2 separate regions of the Homo sapiens genome follow, and region 2 is linked to region 1. The links are contacts of gene promoters, found by promoter capture Hi-C in human tissues and cell types (Jung and others, 2019). All regions are on one chromosome and are shown on one strand. Each heading gives the region's core, a stretch centred on a gene start or on the middle of the fragment in contact. The rest is flanking DNA. Distances are from core to core; before and after follow the strand shown. Region 1 overlaps GABPB2 (GA binding protein transcription factor subunit beta 2). Region 2 holds the start of PI4KB (phosphatidylinositol 4-kinase beta).

What was found. The method cuts DNA at HindIII sites, captures the fragments that hold promoters and counts their contacts. A contact is called where the count stands out against the background at its distance.
Region 2: a contact is called between the fragment with the promoter of PI4KB here and a fragment that was not itself captured in region 1, in 2 of the 25 tissues and cell types used here (adrenal gland and bladder).

Annotation. Positions count from the first base shown.
Region 1 is chr1:151,100,591-151,107,280 of GRCh38, forward strand. GABPB2 (GA binding protein transcription factor subunit beta 2) reads left to right here. Exons shown (of 9, transcript NM_144618.3): 6 at 2,972-3,085; 7 at 6,447-6,632. Among named protein-coding and RNA genes, the nearest start is that of GABPB2, 33 kb to the left of the region's middle. The HindIII fragment of the contact is 8,752 bases long and covers 1-6,690 here.
Region 2 is chr1:151,325,073-151,331,762 of GRCh38, forward strand. PI4KB (phosphatidylinositol 4-kinase beta) reads right to left here and starts at 2,344. Exons shown (of 12, transcript NM_001369623.2): 1 at 2,199-2,344. RefSeq lists an enhancer at 1,852-2,776 and a silencer at 2,712-2,781. The HindIII fragment of the contact is 6,333 bases long and covers 1-5,335 here.

The sequences.
Region 1 (6,690 bases), core at 1,173-3,672:
TTTTTTTTTTTTTTTTGAGACAGAGTTTAACTCTGTCACTCAGGCTGGAGTGCAGTGGCATGATCTTGGCTCACCGCAAACTCTGCCTCCCAGGTTCAAGCGATTCTTGTGCCTCAACCTCCTAAGTAGCTGGGATACTGGTGCCTGCCACCACGCCCAGCTAATTTTTGTATTTTTAGAAGAGACGGGGTTTCACCATGTTGGCCAGGCTGGTTTCAAACTCCTGACCTCAGGTGATCTGCCCACCTCGGCCTCCCAAAGTGCTGGGATTACAGGCATGAGCCACCGTGCCTGGCCCTGACTTCTTGAAAGAAGAAAAACTGGAAAGAATATTTAAGCATAGGTAGTGGGAAAACTTAAAAATTAAGAGTAGACTGGGTGCGATGGCTCACGCCTATAATCTCAGCACTTTGGGAGGCTGAGGCAGGTGGATAGCTTGAACTCATGAGTTCGAGAGCAGCCTGGGCAGCATGGTGAAACCTGGTCTGTACAAAAAATACAAAAAAAAAAAAATTAGCCAGGCATGGTGATGCACACCTGTAGTCCCAGCTACTTGGGAGGCTGAGGTGGGAGAACAGCTTGGGCCTGGGAGGCAGAGGCTGGAGTAAGCCAAGATTGTACCACTGCACTGCAGCCTGGGCGATAATGCCAGAGTTTGTCTTGAAAAAATAAATTAAGAGTACATTTAAAAATAAAATATATTGCTTAGTGTGCTGGCTCACGCCTATAATCCCAGCACTTTGGGAGGCCGAGGTGGGCAGATCACTTGAGGTCAGGAGTTCGAGACCAGCCTGGCTAACATGGTGAAACCCCGTCTTACTAAAAATACAAAAATTAGCTGGGCATGGTGGTGCGCGCCTGTAGTCCCAGTTACTAGGGAGGCTGAGTCAGGAGAATGGCGTGAACCTGGGAGGCAGAAGTTGCAGTGAGCTGAGATCGCGCCACTGCACTCCAGTCTGGGCAACAAGAGCAAAACTCCGTCTCAAAAAAAAAAGAAAAAGAAAAAAGAAAAGAATACAGGAATAGCCAATAGAGGGTGCAGCAGCTACTTCTACTTCTATACTAACAAAGCTTAATGTCATGCCAGCTGACAAGAAATGTTTATAGGGTCCAGCCCCAGCATCACCAGGCAGGACAAAGAAGGGTAGATTCGGAACTGAGAGGCAATAAATTTGTAACTGGCATAATAGGTATCTCTGAAATTATAGTGAAAGAAATAGAGAAATATAATTCATTTTATAAAAGTAAGATTTATACAAAACTGTTGAGTAATACTTTTTTTCCCCAACAAGGAAATATCTACAGTTAGAGTAATACTTTTGGTTCATAAAGTTAGGCATGTCTGTTGCCAGATCTAGTGCGCTTCCCTCTTACAACTTAGCTATGAGAATAGCACACAGATATAAGAGAAGAAGGTTATGAACAAAGTCTTTTTAAAAGTACATCTTGGCTGGACACAGTGGCTCATGCCTATAATCCCAGCACTTTGGGAGGCCGAAGCAGGCAGATCACCTGAAGTCAGGAGTTCAAGACCAGCCTGGGCAACATGGCGAGACCTCGTCTCTACTAAAAGTATAAAAATTAGCTGGGCGTGGTGGTGCACACCTGTAATCCCAGCTACTCAGGAGGCTGAGATAGGAGAAGCGCTTGAATCCGGGAGGCGGAGGTTGCAATGAGCTGAGACCGTGCTACTGCACTCCAGCCTGGGAGACAGAGCGAGACTCCATCTCAAAAAGTAAATAAATAAAAAATAAAAGTACATCTTGACATAACTAAAGTATTTTTAACATTTAGCGTTTTTAGTGTTAATCTATTGTACTACCCTTTGACATTCAATATATGAAACTTTTTATTTATATATTTATTTATTGAGATGGAGTCTTTCTCTGTCACCCAAGCTGAAGTGCAGTGGTGCGATCTCGGCTTACTGCAATCTCCACTTCCTAAGTTCAAGCGATTCTCTTGCCTCAGCCTCCTGAGTAGCTGGGATTATAGGTGCCCACCACCAACCCAGCTAATTTTTGTATTTTTAGTAGAGACAGGGTTTCACCTTGTTGGCCAGGCTGGTCTCGAACTCCTGATCTCAGGTGATCCATCCGCCTCGGCCTCCCAAAGTGCGAGGATTACAGGCATGAGCCACAGCATCCGGCCATGAAACTTTAGGTTTTTAACTATTCTTGTACTAGAGGTGAATCCTATTCTTCACATCTATCTAGCTGATGAAAAAAGGTAGTATGATTGGGTAAAGCCCAGAAGGGGACTATTCCCTTATCACTGCTGAGCTTGGGGTGAGGTATGCATTTTACACTTACTGCCTGCTGCCAAGGAGAGCTCTGCCCAGTCAGCTTAGGGAGTGGGTAGCACTCTTGGTCTGTTAGCTACTAATGCTCAGCACTGGCAGTGCCAAGAGAATGATTAAATGAGGGGAATGTAGTGGCCCTGTACAAAGTATACTTTTTTTTTTTTTTTTTTTTTTTGAGAAGGAGTCTCGCTCTGTCGCCCAGGCTGAAGTGCAATGGTGTGATCTCAGCTCACTGCAAGCTCTGGCTCCCGGGTTCATGCCATTCTTCTGCCTCAGCCTCCCAAGTGGCTGGGACTACAGGCGCCCACCACCACGCCCAGCTAATTTTTTGTATTTTTAGTAGAGACGGGGTTTCACCATGTTAGCCAGGATGGTCTTGAACTCCTGACCTCGTGATCCACCCGCCTCGGCCTCCCAAAGTGCTGGGATTACAGGCAGGAATGGCGCCCGGCCCTCCAAGTATATTAATTTAATCCACTTTAAAGGAAAAACTTTTTAAACCTTAAAAGAATTTTAACACTGATATAATTGGCTTATATCAGTTTGAGTTAGAGAACAAGATTGAGGACATTAGAAGGAAAAGCTGAGGTTTTGATTTAATAAGCTGTTTTTAATTTGCCTCAATTTTTTCTCTACATTGGACCTCATTTGTCTTTCTTACTGAAATAGGTGACCCCCATGCCTCAACAGTACAGTTTTCAAATTCTACCACCTCAGTGCTGGCTACCCTTGCAGCTCTTGCTGAGGCATCAGTCCCCCTCTCCAACTCACACAGAGCCACAGGTAGGTAAGGGATATGCTGCTGGGTGAATCACCACTTTTTCTTTTGTTTTTAAGTCTCCAGCAGATTTAATTTGCATGAAATATTATTAAAGAATTGCATTTAATTAGAGGCAGCTAAGGAAAAGGGATGTGGCATCATTGAACATCAGAAAGAAAAATTGCTAGGTGGTATAATCAGACAGCTGAATAATATCAGAGAATGACTGAATTATTCCTTTGTGTGTTTACAATTTGAAGTTTGTTCTCCCTGACTCTAGTTACTTCAGATTGAAATGTCTATTCTCATATTAGCAGATTTTTTTGGAGATACTCTATGTTATGTTTTGACTGATGCTATCATGGAATGATTCAAAATAGCAGCCCAGATATCTTATATTAAAGTATCAAAATACATGGGACTGGTACCTTTTTCGTTGTCATATCCTTTGTACTTCATGGCTTGCTTTTATTTTCACTGGAGATGTTATTTTGGCATTTCCAAAGGAGTTGAGCAAATATAGGCTATGTATTGCCTTTCTGATATTTAAAACAAAAAAGTTTTCAAGTCATTTAGCCAGAGCTAGTGGTCTGTGGGGGGAAGACTTAAGGCTTCATATAGGCAGGGGCATATAGTCATAGTTAGGGCTCAGTAGACATTTAGAAATCTGTCTGGAACCCTCTGGCCATCTGCTCCATCATATATGAAAGCAGAATGTTCTGATTTCTTTCTGCCATGACATTTGGGTGGTAAGAACATTCTTCCAATTCCAATCCTATTTTTCTGAATGGGTGTAATCATAAAGATCTCTACTCAGATGTATATGAGGGAACAACATAGCAAAGGGAAAAGCAGTGTATTAAACTTGTCCTTGCTATTCTTTTGCTTTGCTCTTTGATCTTGGATAAATCACTTCTCCAGGTTCTAGTTTTCTCATCTTTGGCATGATGGTTGGATTAGGTTATCTATCCAGGACCTTTCAGCTTTAATATTTAACTGTTCTTTGTTTCTAAGAGGTGTGAATCCTTTATTTCCATTGAACTACCTAGATGTGTTGCATATGGATGGTTGATACCCCACTTATTACTGCAAAGTTCTATCTGTGACTCTTTCTTTCTTTCTCTCTTTCTTTCTTTCTTTCTTTCTTTCTTTTCTTTCTTTCCTTTCTTTCTTTCTTTCTCTTCTCTCTCTTTCTTTCTTTCTTTCTCCTTCCCTCCCTCCCTCTCTCTCTCTCTCTTTCTCTCTTTCTCTCTTTCTTTCTTTCCTTCTTGAGACAGAGTCTCACTCTGTCACCCAGGCTGGGATGCAGTGGCATGATCTCAGCTTACTGCAATCTCCACCTCTGGGGTTCAAGCACAATTCTCCTGCCTCAGCCTCCCAAGTAGCTGGGATTACAGGCGCCCACCACCATGCCCAGCTAAATTTTGTATTTTTAGTAGAGATGAGGTTTTGCCATGTTGGCCAGGCTGGTCTCAAACTACTGACCTCAGTGATCCGCCCACCTCGGCCTTCCAAAGTGCTGGGATTACAGGTGTGAGCCACCGCGCCTGGCCCTGTGACACTTTAGATAGAGACATTCCATAGTGGTAGGAATTATTTCCTCTAATAGTGCTTAGTTTATTGGGATATTGACTAATCAAACTGAAAATCTCGATTCAACATAATACACATAACACTCATAGAATGGTACCTGGCACATAAGCGTTGGCTATTTTATATATATATGTGTGTATATATATGTATATATCAAATGTATATCAAATATATATACAAATATATATATCAAATATATATACAAATGTATATATATTTGATATACATTTAATATAAACATATATGTATATATATATATGTTTGGGGTTTCTTTTGATACAGACAGGATCTTATTCTGTTATTCTGTCACCCAGGCTGGAGTGCAGTGGCACAATCAGAGCTCACTGCAGCTTCAACTTCTGGGCTCAAGTGATCCTCCCACATCAGCCTCCTGAGTAGCTAGGACTAAAGGTGCATGCCACCACGCTCAATTAATTTTTCAAATTTGGGGGGATGGTCTCACTGCTCAGTCTGGTCTTCAACTCCCAGCCTCAAGCAGTCCTCCTGCCGTGGCCTCCCAAAGTGCTGGGATTATGGGCGTGAGCCACCATACCCAGCCAGCTATTATTCTTGATTTATCAGAGGAAAAAAGCCATCTAACATTTTTGTCTATCAAACTTCAATATTTTGACTACTTCACATATTATTCTGTGAATTCACTATTAAATATCCCTGTTTTCTTATAGAAATGATCTACTGTAATTTATGGTTATTTTAGATTTTTTTTTTTTTTGAGATGGAATCTCGCTCTTGTCACCCAGGCTGGAGTGCAATGGCGTGATCTTTGCTCACTGCAACCTCCGCCTCCCAGGTTCAAGCAATTCCCCTGCCTCAGCCTTCCAAGTAGCTGGGATTACAGGCGCCCACCAACACGCCCAGCTAATTTTTGTATTTTTAGTAGAGATGGGGTTTCACCATGTTGGCCAGGCTGGTCTCGAACCCCTGACCTCAGGTGATCTGCCCACCTCGGCCTCCCAAAGTGCTGGGATTACAGGCGTGAGCCACCGTGCCCAGCCATTTTAGACTTTCAAGATACTTTCTGAAAAAAAAAGGGTTCCAATATCAAATATGTTGGGGAAACAGCATATCTGGTTTTTTTGTTTGTTTTTTGAGACAGAGTCTCGCTCTGTCGCTCAGGCTGGAGTGCAGTGGCTCCATCTCGACTCACTGCAACCTCTGCCTCCCAGGCTCAAGCGATTCTCGTGCCTCAGCCTCCAAAGTAGCTGGAACTACAGGCACGTGCCACCATGCCTGACTAATTTTTGTACTTTTAGTAGAGACAGTGTTTTGCCATGTTGGCCAGGCTGGTCTCTAACTCCTGGCCTCAAGTGATTCGCCCATCTTGGCCTCCCAAAGTGCTGAGATTACAGGCGTGAGCCACTGTGCCCAGCCGAAACAGAGTATCTTATACTCTGTTGGAGAATCACACCCTGTTGGAAAATCACAATGTTTATTAGCCTATTGAAGTCTCTGATACTCCTACAAAACAAAAAAGTTTAAGCATGTTTAAACCAGAATTTTGAAAACGTATTTATACATAGAATCCATCTTTAGTGAAAGTTATTAATACCTCAGTGAACACATTTTACAAAATACTGTTCTAATGCATTCTGTTTTCTTTTCTCCTCTGACTTAGCATTGTTCACAAAACCTTTTGCGAACTGTTGAATCTCACTTTTTTTTTTCAAATGTTCCTCTCCCTGAATGTTGTCAGGTTCAAGGAGGTTGAAATTGCTATACTCCTATGTTTTTAAAAAGCTGAAATTTTAAATTTGCTTTTGTCATCTCTAGCCAATACAGAGGAAATTATAGAAGGAAATTCCGTTGACTCATCAATCCAGCAAGTAATGGGGAGTGGAGGCCAGAGGGTCATCACCATAGTGACTGATGGAGTCCCTCTGGGTAATATCCAAACTTCAATCCCTACTGGAGGCATTGGCCAGCCATTTATTGTAACTGTGCAAGATGGACAGCAAGGTGAGTTATCTCTTGTAGACAATTGTTTATTAAAAGATATTTTAGATACTCCATACTC
Region 2 (6,690 bases), core at 1,094-3,593, 220 kb after region 1:
CCTTCGCCTCCTGGGTTCAAGTAATTCTCCTGCTTCAGCCTCCGGAGTAGCTGGGATTACAGAAGCTCGCCACCATGCCCGGCTAATTTTTTGTATTTTTAGTAGAGATGGGGTTTCACCATGTTGGCCGGACTGGTCTTGAACTCCTGACCTCGGGTGATCTGCCTGCCTCGGCCTCCCAAAATGCTGGGATTACAGGTGTGAGCCACCGCGCCTGGCAGGAAAGCTTCTAATAAGGGGAATTATGAGGAGACTGCACCATGACTAACGACAAGGAAGAGAAAGGAAGTGGGATAAGATGACATAACTACTCCCAAACAGACCTAGAATCAGAAAATGAATGGAATCTCACGTGCCCTTTCGCTATCACAGGCTGAGAGAGACATGGCAGCAACTAGTTGCCTAAGTCTCAGTTCACTCCAAGTTCTCTTTTCCAGCCAGCTTCCTCAAAGTGCTTTCCCACAAACATACTTTCTACCTATAGAATCTGGAGTTATGGATCAAGTACGTGAGGAACAGGACAGAAAATCAGCCACTTAATGCACTGGGGGAAAAAGCAAAGCAGATGAAGGAAGCAGGCCTGGAGCTTGTCTTTCAAAATGACTTACACCCCTGGTTGTGGACTAGAAACATCTGACAGAAAGACCAAGGTGAAGGAAAATTCTCAGGATGACTAAACCACTACTAATAAATACCTTTTGCCTGAGGAACCCAAAATGTTTTGTAAACAAATAAACCAAATCTGATTTTTTCCCCCAACCCACATCCTGCTACCAACTTATTACTGCACTGATGCCTACAGAGAGTGGGCATTTTCCAAAAGGATCACTCTAGAGGTCAAGTGAGGAAGTCACATGCTGAACCCAGGAGTCCCGATTCTGAATGTACAAGCTCTTTCCATTGTCTCATGTTCCTTTTTCCAGTTATACCCTTACCCCACTCCAGGCCTGAATTCTTATGGAACCAACCAAAACTATTCTAGTAAACCACAAGAATAAACTGATTCCTCATGGATCTGGACAGGGGTGAGAAGGCACTCTATTCTGTGATTCCTTTAACAAAAGCCTAAAATTAAATAATCTGAAACAAGTTTTCTCACAATCTCATTCAATTTCCACGCAGGCCTGTTCATCCCTCTTAGTGGCTGCTCCGGAGTAGTCAACCAAGTGTAATCTGATAGGGACTTCTTCAAAACTTGCTCCGGCCTTCAGAAACACCCTTCTGTCCTGAACGGCCTGAGGCAGCTGAGGCTCCCCCTGCTCACAACACATTTTTCTTCTTAGTTCAAGGTTTAGTTGATCCTGAAATAAGTGGTATGTGGAGATAAAGAGTGTAACAGAGAACACATGAAGCCCACGGGAAAAACAGAACAAATGTCACAAGGATCAGAGAAATCCCTGAAACTCGAGGGAGGTGTCAAAGTTGGAAATCCTGAATGGGAAGGGCACTGTCAAATCTCTCCCCTACAGACAGAAACCTCTAGAAAGTTGGGGGATTGAGGAGGGAGAAAGAGAAGCTAAAGAAAGTTATAGGGATCATAATGCATCCCAGAGAAGAGTGAGGACTAGGTTCAAAGTAAGAATGTAAATGGTACTTTTGGATTGATGACAAGGGCCCGAGATCCCTTAAGGAGAAGGGAACAGGCAATTCTTGGAAGCCAGGAGCTGGCTGGGTAGGTGGGTGACAGTGAGGTAATGGAATCAGAAGCAGCACAGGAAGACAGGGATGCAATCTTTAGCTCAGGGAAATGGGAACCCAGTGCTGGAGTTGCACAGGGACATAGGAGGAAAAGTGCAAACTAGGAAAAGAGATAAAGGTGGAGTCCATGGAAAAGGTTTGGGGCAGGGGCAGAGACGACGAGGAAGGACAAGGATGGGCATTATGGGAGTCGTCTGATATGGAAAGGGTTCATGACTTAAAAAAAAGAATTATTCGAGACGTAGGCAACAGGGATGAGTGAGGGAGGGGGGAATCCCCGAGGCAGAGGGAGGAGCTAATAGAAGAGGAAGCCAAAAAGCGGAGGAGGACCCCAGGCCTGAGAGGAAAGGGTGGAGAAGGAACCCGGGGTGCAGCTGACACCAAGAGGGCAGTTTCGTAGTCGAACTCAGGTGGGGAAGACTGTGCGGGACAGGGTGGGAGAGGGACCCCCCCCCCCACCCAACAGGGCAAAGGTGACTCATGAAGGAGGAGTAGCTTACCTCTGGGGGACCCCCGCGGAGGGGGTGCGGGCAGTCGCGGTTGGACTGCCGACACTGCCGCCTCAGCAGCAGCGACCGCTCCCGGGTTCCATTGGCCGCCTGCGCTTCCCTGACAGCGGCCGCGGAGGCTGCACCAGGCCCCGGCTGCGGGGCTGCCCGCGGCGCCGCCTGAGGGGGCCTTCAGGCTGCCACAAGTTCGACCGGGCCACACAACCTCTTCTTCCTCCCTCAGTACAACCAAGACCAAAAAAATAATAAAATAAAATAAAATTCCCCAGCAGGTCTCGATGTAGTATTCTTCTCCGGAGTCCAAGCCAAGCCTTTCTTCCCAGGATACGCTTTCCTGCTTCCCCAGCGGTCAGGACCCTACCGATTCCATAGTAATCTAAGGAGTCGGGTGAGCTGCCTGGAACATGCCTGTTCAGAAATAGAAAAGGGGGCGGGGAAAAGATGTTTGGAAGCTCTCGAGGGAGAGAGGGCGAAGGGAGGAGCTTACGGGTGGGAGGAGGGGCCAATATTTAAGAAGCGGACCTAAGCGATAGCGTTTGCGAGGCTAAAGAAGCCGAGAGAGAAGTAAAATTTGCTGCATAAGTAGGGTGAGCAGGCGGCCGTGGGTGCCCTGTTAAAGAAGTATGGACATATGCATACTTCCAGAAGTATATTAACATGCAAGTTATATGTAAACGACCGTTTGAGTAACTAACCAAATTACCGTAATTGCAATCAATGACTTTTCCCCCTCCCGTATGCTACAAGACTCCCTTAGTAAATCAGGCCGTGGGATGGACGCTGGGTTCCTAGAAGGGCGCGCAGGAAGACGGCGGACGGGGAAGACGTTCTTTCTGACTGCCCTTTTCCTACTTATCTTGGAGGACGATGCGGAGTTTAAGCTCCTTAACATTTCGGGAATGGCGCGGTCCAACCGCGTCAGTCTTTTCGCCGTTAGAGGCCCGACTCGAGGCCGTGGTTCTGCCTCCGAGGTCACCAACCTGCCTGGGCAGCCTGTGACCTCCAGCATCCATATGCCCAGCCCTCCAGGGAGGGGCTGGACAGGGCCAGGTTGGGAGAGGTGAGTGAAACGACAAAGGCTTGGAGGGCACAATCCCTTCTTCCAAACAAAACGAAACCATATTAGGCCAAACAAATAAACAAAAACACGCCATGCAAATGGGCCTCTGGTGTTGCTTTTGTGTATTTTTCGTTTGTTTGTTTGTTTTGTAAAGACAGGGTCTTGCTATGTTGCCCAAGCTTGTCTCGAACTGTTAGCCTCAAGCAATCTGCCGGCCTCAGGTACCAAAGTGCTGGGATTATAGGCCCGACCTCGCCCAGCAAGTTTTTTGTGTATTTTTCGGTTAAGATTGTTGATTTAGAGCCCTCTTTGTCCTCAGAACCTCTATCTCAATGCCTTTCCTAGGGCTTTACTTAATATGCAATGCCCCTCATTAGTGCCTTACTTAATACATTGAGGCTAGTTATTTGAGCCCGGGTCTTGAATGCCATCTTCCCTGCCACTTACAAGCCGTTTGATTTGGAATAACTAATGTAACCTCTTTAAACCTCAGTTTCTATGTCTACAAAGAAGACATATGGATGAAGTAATATTAGCCCATTACAGGGTTTTGTTAGGATCAAGAGAGTACAAGTTGCTACTATAGTACTTTATTATTAATTATTGGGACAATCATACAGGATAGATGATGAAAGAGTCACTGCTACAATGTTTAATTGGAAGGCAGAATAAAGTGTAATAGCTTGAAAATGCCTGTGTAAAACATGCAGTATATACAACAGTAGAACAAATGGGGTACCTAACCTAATTGCTGAAGGGACATAGTGGAGTTTAAGTTAATTTGGAAGGCCTATATGTGTATGGACACACACACATACACACACACACACACACACACACACACACACACACACCAGTATATGGTGAATGAATGAATGGAAGGCTTCTTAGAAATATTGTGAGTCAGGTCTTAGAATAGATATTGGATATAACCCAGCAAAATAAAAGACAAGCGAGCATTCTGAAAGCAAAAAAATTGTATGTTGAAGAATATAAATGGGAATTTGCTCATATCATGAGGAGAGGGCAAGCAGACAAGCTAGGTTAAAGCAGGAGTACAGTATGAAAGATGAACAAAGAATGGGGACAAGAGTGCCAAAGATAGTTTAAATTTGTCAGCTGGGCACAGTGGCTCACACCTGTAATCCCAGCACTTTGGGAGGCTGAGGTGGGCAGATTGCTTGAGCTCAGGGGTTTGAGACCAGCCTGGGCAACATGGTGAAACCACGTCTCTTCAAAAATACAAAAATTAGCCTAGCTGGCATGGTGGCATGCACCTGTAGTCCCAGCTACTTAGGAGGCTGAGGTAGGAGGATCACTTGAGCCTGGGAGACAGAGGCTGCAGTGAGCCAAGATCATGCCACTGCACTCCAGCCTGGACAACGGAGTGAGACCCTGTCTCAAAAAAAAAAATCGGCTTGGCGTGGTGGCTCACGCCTGTAATCCCAGCACTTTGGGAGTCCGAGGTGGGTGGATCAGTCGAGGTCAGGAGTTTGAGACCAGCCTGACCGACTTGGTGAAACCCTGTCTCTACTAAAAATACAAAAATTAGCTGGGCATGGTGGTGGGTGCCTATAATCCCAGCTACTAGGGAGGGTGAGGCAGGGAATCACTTGAACCTGAGAGGCAGAGGTTGCAGTGAGCCGAGATTGCGCCATTGCACTCCAGCCTGGGCAACAGAGCGAGACTCCATCTCAAAAAAAAAAAAAAAATTCTCACCACTGGTCTGGATTGGGGAGAATCACCAGTCCACATGTTAGGCCCACCAGCTCTTGGCCAGCTTCCAATCAGCTGTCCCGCAAATATCATGAGGCGATGACCCTGCTTTAGCCTAGAGTTTAAAATGTCATGTATCCCCTCAAGGGATAACCTTCCAAACAGCCACAAGACTAGCCTTTTGAAACATTGTAGAAAGACATGTGACAACCTTTTTTATAGTAGGAAGTTTTCTTATTTTCCAATGACAGAAAAAATTTCAGAAACATCTCTTCAAATTTGAAGCAGGAACTTTTTATAGCTAGTCAGTTATAGACCACCCTACTAAAAATACACACACACACAAACATAAGTAGAAGATTTTAAGTTTCCTATTTATAGCTCTAAGGGTTCATATGTATAAATTTCTTTCTTTCTTTTTTTTTTCTTTTTGAGACAGAGTCTCCCTCTGTCGCCCAGGCTGGAGTGCAATGGTGCAATCTTGGCTCAAGGGACCCTCCTCCACCTCCTGGATTCAAGCGATTCTTCTGCCTCAGCCTCCCGAGTAGCTGGGATTACAGGCATGCGTCACCATGCCCAGCTAATTTTTGTATTTTTAGTAGAGACGGGGTTTCACCATGTTGGCCAGGATGGTCTTGATCTCTTGAACTCGTGATCCGCCCGCCTCGGCCTCCTAAAGTGCTGGGATTACAGGCGTGAGCCACTGTGCCTGGCCCATATGTATAAATTTCTTTGCATCCCTTTATGACTGTCTTTCTGCCGTTTTCGGGAGGGTTTCTTTTTTTTTTTTTTATCATCTTCTGTTTTTTGTTTTTGTTTTTTTTGAGACAGGGTCTTGCTTTTTTGCCCAGGCTGGAGTGCAGTGGCGTGATCTCAGCTCACTGCAAACTCTGCCTCCCGAATTCAAGCGATTGTCGTGCTTCAGCCTCCCAAGTAGCTGGGATTACAGGTGCACGCCACCACGCCCAGCTAATTTTTGTATTTTTAGTAGAGATGGGGTTTCACCATGTTGCCCAGGCTGGTCTCGAACTCCCAACCTCAGGTGATCTGCCCACCTTGGCCTCCCAAAACGCTGGGATTATAGGTGTGAGCCACTGTGTCTCTACCAAAATCACAAAAATTAGCGAGACGTGGTAGTATGCACCTGTGGGAAGGCTTAGGCAGGAGAATTGCTTGAACCTGGGAGGTAGAGGTTGCAGTGAGCTGCAATCATGCCACTGCACTCCAGCCTGGGTGACAGAGTGAGACACACACACACACACACATACACACACACACACACAAAGATTGAATGCAGAAGCAGATATGAGAACCCAGTCTGACATTAAAGAAATTTCCCCCTTTAAAAACAATGCCAATTGTCTCATTGATTTTTTTTCTTGTTTCGGAAAATATAGTTATTTTTCAAAAATGATTTAGTTCATATATATATATATATATATTTTATATATATATTTTTTTCTTTTTCTTTTTTTTTTTTTTAATTGAGACAGAGTCTCACTCTGTTGTCCAGGCTGGAGTGCAGTGGTGCCATCTCAGCTCACTGCAACCTCCGCCTCCCGGGTTGGAGCCATTCTCCTGCCTTAGCTTCCTAAGTAGCTGGGATTACAGGCACCCACCACCACACCCAGCTAATTTTTGTTATTTTCGTAGAGACAGTGTTTCACCATGTTGGCCAGGCTGGTCTCAAACTCCTGACCTCAAGTG